Regions from separate parts of the Homo sapiens genome. Here region 1 is linked to region 2. The links are contacts of gene promoters, found by promoter capture Hi-C in blood cells and fetal thymus (Javierre and others, 2016). All regions are on one chromosome and are shown on one strand. Each heading gives the region's core, a stretch centred on a gene start or on the middle of the fragment in contact. The rest is flanking DNA. Distances are from core to core; before and after follow the strand shown. Region 1 overlaps C1QTNF7-AS1 (C1QTNF7 antisense RNA 1). Region 2 holds the start of FAM200B (family with sequence similarity 200 member B).

The links. The method cuts DNA at HindIII sites, captures the fragments that hold promoters and counts their contacts. A CHiCAGO score of 5 or more calls a contact.
Region 1: a contact is called between a fragment that was not itself captured here and the fragment with the promoter of FAM200B in region 2, in 1 of 17 cell types (naive B cells). The highest score is 5.7, in naive B cells.

What each region holds. Positions count from the first base shown.
Region 1 is chr4:15,409,196-15,411,895 of GRCh38, forward strand. The region is part of intron 1 of C1QTNF7-AS1 (C1QTNF7 antisense RNA 1); the gene reads right to left. It also overlaps a transcript of C1QTNF7 not described here. Among named protein-coding and RNA genes, the nearest start is that of C1QTNF7-AS1, 17 kb to the right of the region's middle. The HindIII fragment of the contact is 2,631 bases long and covers 136-2,700 here.
Region 2 is chr4:15,680,452-15,683,151 of GRCh38, forward strand. It overlaps FAM200B (family with sequence similarity 200 member B), which reads left to right and starts at 1,376. Exons shown (of 2, transcript NM_001145191.2): 1 at 1,376-1,450. It also overlaps a transcript of FBXL5 not described here. RefSeq lists enhancers at 876-1,175, 1,346-1,585, 1,596-1,645. The HindIII fragment of the contact is 4,207 bases long and covers 1-2,490 here.

The DNA of each region.
Region 1 (2,700 bases), core at 201-2,700, 270 kb before region 2:
TAAAAGGCTGCATGCAGCTGAAATATTATTGACATAAAAAGGGTGAAATTGCTATTATTTTTATTCAACTGGACATCACTGTATCATGGTAGTGATGGTCCTCAGCCTCAGGCCCTTCATCCAAATTATCTGGGAAGCTTGTTAAAAATCGAGATTTTCAAGGCCTCCAAGACTCTAAGTGATTGCAGCTTGCGAATGGGCCTCTGTATCTATCTGTATTTATTTAGTGCTCCTTATTTACAATGGTTTTCTCAGGAAAGACAAACTGGGGATGAAAGATGAATGTGGAAGAAAGACTTATTTTCACTATTCATGCTTTTCATTATGAAATTTTTAAAAACCATTGTGTACATGCATAGCCATGGTCAGAACCTATGAATCTAGTGAGATGCTGTTGGATCTCTTAAAAACAGAGCATTGTGCAGAATCACCAGGAGGGTCTCGGGCAGTCTAGTCAGGCTGAGCTCCTGGAGGAGACAGTGAATTGTGGAGTCCGACGGCCCAGGGTCTGAACGTGCTCTGCCCACCCAATGAGACACCCTGGGCTTGGTGTGCTCACTTTAGTGAGCATCTCATCTATGAAATCTGTATAATAGGACCCACTTACCAGAGTTGTTAGGCTGAAATAGGACAATACATATAAAGCATTCCACACACAGTTTGGCACATAGGGAACCTTCAGTAAATCATAAATATGATGACTCTTTTTTTCTCCATTGTCCTTGTGCTGGAATGAAGGTTATTGAAATGATCACAATTGAATTATCTGGGAAAGCAAAACTCTTCTTTGTCTCATAAAACCAAGTCAGTTGACTTAAAGCCAGAAAGTGTATGTGCTAAAACAGTTTCTACATACCCCATGAAGTGCTAATGGCCAAAATTTCTCACCCCAGCCTTCCTGCCGTTAGCACTAATCCAGGAAACTAGAACTCCTGAGGCATTTTAATTTAGAATTATAAATGTGTGCAGTCATAATTTTCTTAGACATCTTCCACACTATTTTGGAGCTTTGGCTTATTGCTTTATGTTTGCATTTAATTTTTTTTCTTAGAGATGTAAATAATTATGTTACTAAATATATGGGAAATAGAAAGTAGGAAAAAAACAGTTCATAATTCCACCACTTTCACAATGGATACCAGCATTTTGGTATATTTTCTGCCAGGCTGTTAACGTGTGAGCTTTATCATTACAAGCATTATAATCATATTGAACACAATTTTGACTCTCAATGTTTCTCTTAACAGTATATTGTGAATATTTTCCTTATGATGGAAAAGGCATTATAACTACCTTTTCAACTAACTGCATAATATTCCACTAAGTGACTAACCCACAATATATTTAACAACTCTACTATTACATGACATTTTGGTTTATTCCAATTTTTTCTGGTTTTCACAGTGCTGCAATAAACATCTTTGTATGTGAACATTTTTATTGAATTCATAATTATTTCTTAGGCTAGATTCACACAATTGGCTAGCCTTCAGTTTTAGAGATATGAAATTACATTAGATTATGGTATTAAACTAACTAGGTGAACTTAGAAAAATCACCAGGATTTCACGTGAATATGCTTTCTCTCTGGTTTTCAGAACTATTAGGGGAACAAATCTTTTGCAAAGCAGCACGAAGGCAGCCTGTAATCTACCAGAGACATACAGAATTGCAACAAGGTCAAAGGGCACCACTTTATTTGGCTGCTACAATATCAACATCAATTTCGAGTTACAACCCAGAAACAAAACAGAGTTTTGAAAAGCAGCAGTGCCTGTCATCCAAATTGCATTTCCTGTTTCACACGCGAACAGGAAGGAAAAGAAACTGCCACTGGCCCCCTACTGAAAGAGACTCTCACTGTGGAAATGTACGTGCATACTAACTTCCATTATTGCAAGGAGTCAGCAAATTCATTCCAATAAGAACTTATTATATTAATAACCATTTACATTTATTGAGCACTTACAATGTGCCAGTGTTCTTAAATATCCTAAACATATACTAACTTTTTCCCATTTTCTGGAAGGCACACTGAGGCATAAAGAGAACATCATTTTCTGAAGATGACAATGATTTTCACAGGAAAGACAAACGAGATGAAAGATGAATGTGCAAGGAAGACTTATTTTCACTATTCATGCTTTTCATTATGAAATATTAAAAAAAAACCACTGTGCACATGCACAGCCATGATCAGAAACTATGAACCTAGAGAGATGCTGTTGGATCTCTTTAAAACACACCATTGTGCAGAATCACCAGGAGGGTCTCTGGCAGCCTAGTCAGCCTGCATTCCTAGAGGAGACAGTGAGCTATGGAGTCTGACAGCCCATGGTCTCAATGTGCTCTGCCCACCCAATGTGAAAGTGGTTAGTAGGAGGTGGAGCTGGGCTTCAAACCCAGGTATGCTGGCTTCAGAAATCACTGTCTAAACCAACCCGGACACCCCTATTCTTTTTGTTGCCTACAGCCCTGGCAGGGTCTCCTGGCTTCCCCTGGTATAGTAATTTTCTATAACGGCTATAACAAATTATCACAAACCTGGTGGAGCAGTTACCATCTTATGGTTCTGAAAGTCAGAAGTCTCAGGTGGGCTTCCAGGGCTACATTCCTCTTGGATGCTCTGGGGGAAAAGCTGTTTCCTTGCCTTTTCTATCTTCTAGAGCAGGAGTCCCCAGTCCCTGAACCACGCACCGG
Region 2 (2,700 bases), core at 126-2,625:
CCTGAGGTCAGGAGTTCGAGACCAGCCTGGCCAAAATGGTGAAACCCCGTCTTTGTATTTTTGAAAAATACAAAAATTAGCCTGGCATGGTGGCGGTCGCCTGTAATCCCAGCTACTCGGGAGGTTGTGGCAGGGGAATCGCTTGAACCAGGAGGCTGAGGTTGCAGTGAGCCGAGGCTGCGCCACTGCACTCCAGCCTGGGCGAGAGAGTGAGACTCCGTCTCAAAAATTAAAAAAAAAAATCCAGTTGGAGAATCAAAAATTTTTAAAAATTTGACTGTGTAATCCTACAAGAAGTAAGTAGCTTGAGAAAGAGAAATGCTGATAAAGTCGCATTAAGTTTCAGAGTTGAAATTCAAGCTCCTGTATCTAACATGTTTCCCTGTTTAAGGTAGAATTTAAAAAAAAACTATATATGACATATATATGTCAACCCAAAAAAATAAAGCAGTATATATTATATATATAAGAATATATATATATTCTCCTTTATATGTTTTTTGTTTCACATATATATATAAATATATATCTCAACCACAAAAAAATTTGGTTTGTGACAAAGATGCACTTATTTGCACGAACCTATCTTGTTAATGATCAAGAAATCTGCTTTGTTACAATCATTAGAGGACAGAAATATACATACATATTTAAATCTATTTAATGAAATGCAGTTTTATGTTAAAAATCAATGATCTGCTAACCTAAAGAGTCGCACAGGAATACTATGATTATTAAACACAATGCGATTCTCTAAATAAGTAAACACGTGCAATGATATCAAAGTTCAAAATTCTCTAATTCTTCCACAAAGACTATGAAAATCACCTTGGAGTGTATGAACCAGCGTCCTGGCCCCGCCAGGTCGGGGCTGGGGCGGGCGCGGGCCGGGAGCGCTTACCCCGCGGCAGGAGCGATTCAGCGCCACTACCTGCTTCGCCTGGTTGTGGTGTGGCTGCTGCGCCAACCGAAAGGCCTCCTTAATCCGCAGCAGTCTCTTTTCGCTCCCATGGCTCTGGGACTCTGTCCGGACTAGCCCTGTCCGCGCTCGGCTACATCCGGCCCGCCCACCAGCTCAGAGGCAGAGTTCTCCGCGGTGTCTCCTAGGGTTTCTTGTCAGAGGGCCCCAGGCGCCTAGGGAGTCGTTACCGCCCTGGCATTCAAATAACTCCCGCGAGAGGCGGAAATCCCGCGAGACTGCCGACAGAGCGTAGGGAAGTGGAAAAGTGGAGCCTGCACCGCCCGCTCCCGGCACCCCCGGACACCGCCCCGGTCTCACGCATGCGCAGAGGGCCGATCCAGTTCTTTTCGGCTGGAATGGGGAATTTGTGAGGTAGGCCGGAAGTGGTGTTGCGGAGGGAAGTGTGGGGAGAGCAGAGGCGCAGCTCTGCTGGAGAGACCTGAGGCTTGCAGCGCTGGGCCCGGCCGGGTCGCTGCGGCTGGGCTGGAGGTGAGGCGAAAGAAGGGCATCCTCTGATGGGAGTGGACCGGAGTCCGCTAAAGCGAAGCATTCCAGGGTTCGTTGCGGGAAATACAGTCTGGTTTTGCCCCCCGTATGAATTGAGGGAAGGTGAGAGCAGAAGCAATCCGGGCCTGAAGGGCGATTATTCTAGGGTCGGCCGAGGGGTTCAGGCCAAAGTTCATTGAAATCCTAGCTGGGTCCCTGGAGGACGAGAAAACCGGTCAGGAGTCTCCTGGGAAGAGGGTCATGTTTTAATCTAGCTAAAGCTGGTACCTGGCAGTTTCCACTCTTAAGGCCTAGTGTACTAACTAATGTGTGCGCAATGTCAAAACAGGAAACAAAGGGAAATGCAAGAGGTGGAAGGTAATTTTAAGTTAGTGGCAGTATGACAGATTTCCAGTGCCTTCAGGAAGGTATCCAGCCTTAAAGATGCTTTTTTTAAATAGACGATTTTAGACAGAAAAAAGGTAGAAACAAAACTATAACACATGTGTACTCACCACTGAATTGGAGAAATAAATGATTATATAAGTGATTGAAGTCCTTTGTCAGCTCTACCCCGTCTCATTCTCTTTCCTTTTGCCTAAGGAAACCACTCTCCTAACCACCTTTATGCAATCTGTAATGTGTACATCTTTTTGCAGCTAGCTTGTTTTACATAATGTTTTTGAGATTTGTCAGTGTTGTGTAACTCCACCTTATTCATCTTAATAGCTGAACAGATATTCTGTTATTTTAATATGTCACTGTTCATTGTTTAGTATCTCCAGTGCCTGACATACTTTAGGCACTGTAGGTAGCTAAATGTTAGTTGAATGCATGGCTGCTGTAGCATTTGAACTAAGTAGAAAAGAATAAATAGGACTTCATGTGACCCAACAAGAGTATTCCAGGCAAAAGGAATACTAGCCAAAAGCAGAGACATGAAAGTGCATGAACTATTTCAAGAATTTCCATACTTTTAGTACTGAAATGTAGAATGTATGGAGATCATGTGATGAAGGAGAAACCTGGAAAGATGAGGCTTAAGCTTAAAGGATATTATCCTGAAGAGCTTACACAAGCTCGGCGCCATTAAATGCTTTTCCAGTTATGAGGAAGCTGATTAGAGCTGTATTTTCAGAAGATGATACAGCGCACTAGAGATATATCTTAGGATATAAAAGATTAGTGACGGGGAATTTTAGACTATCAAGCATTGTAACAATAACAATCATTGCATTAAGCAAGTAAGACAA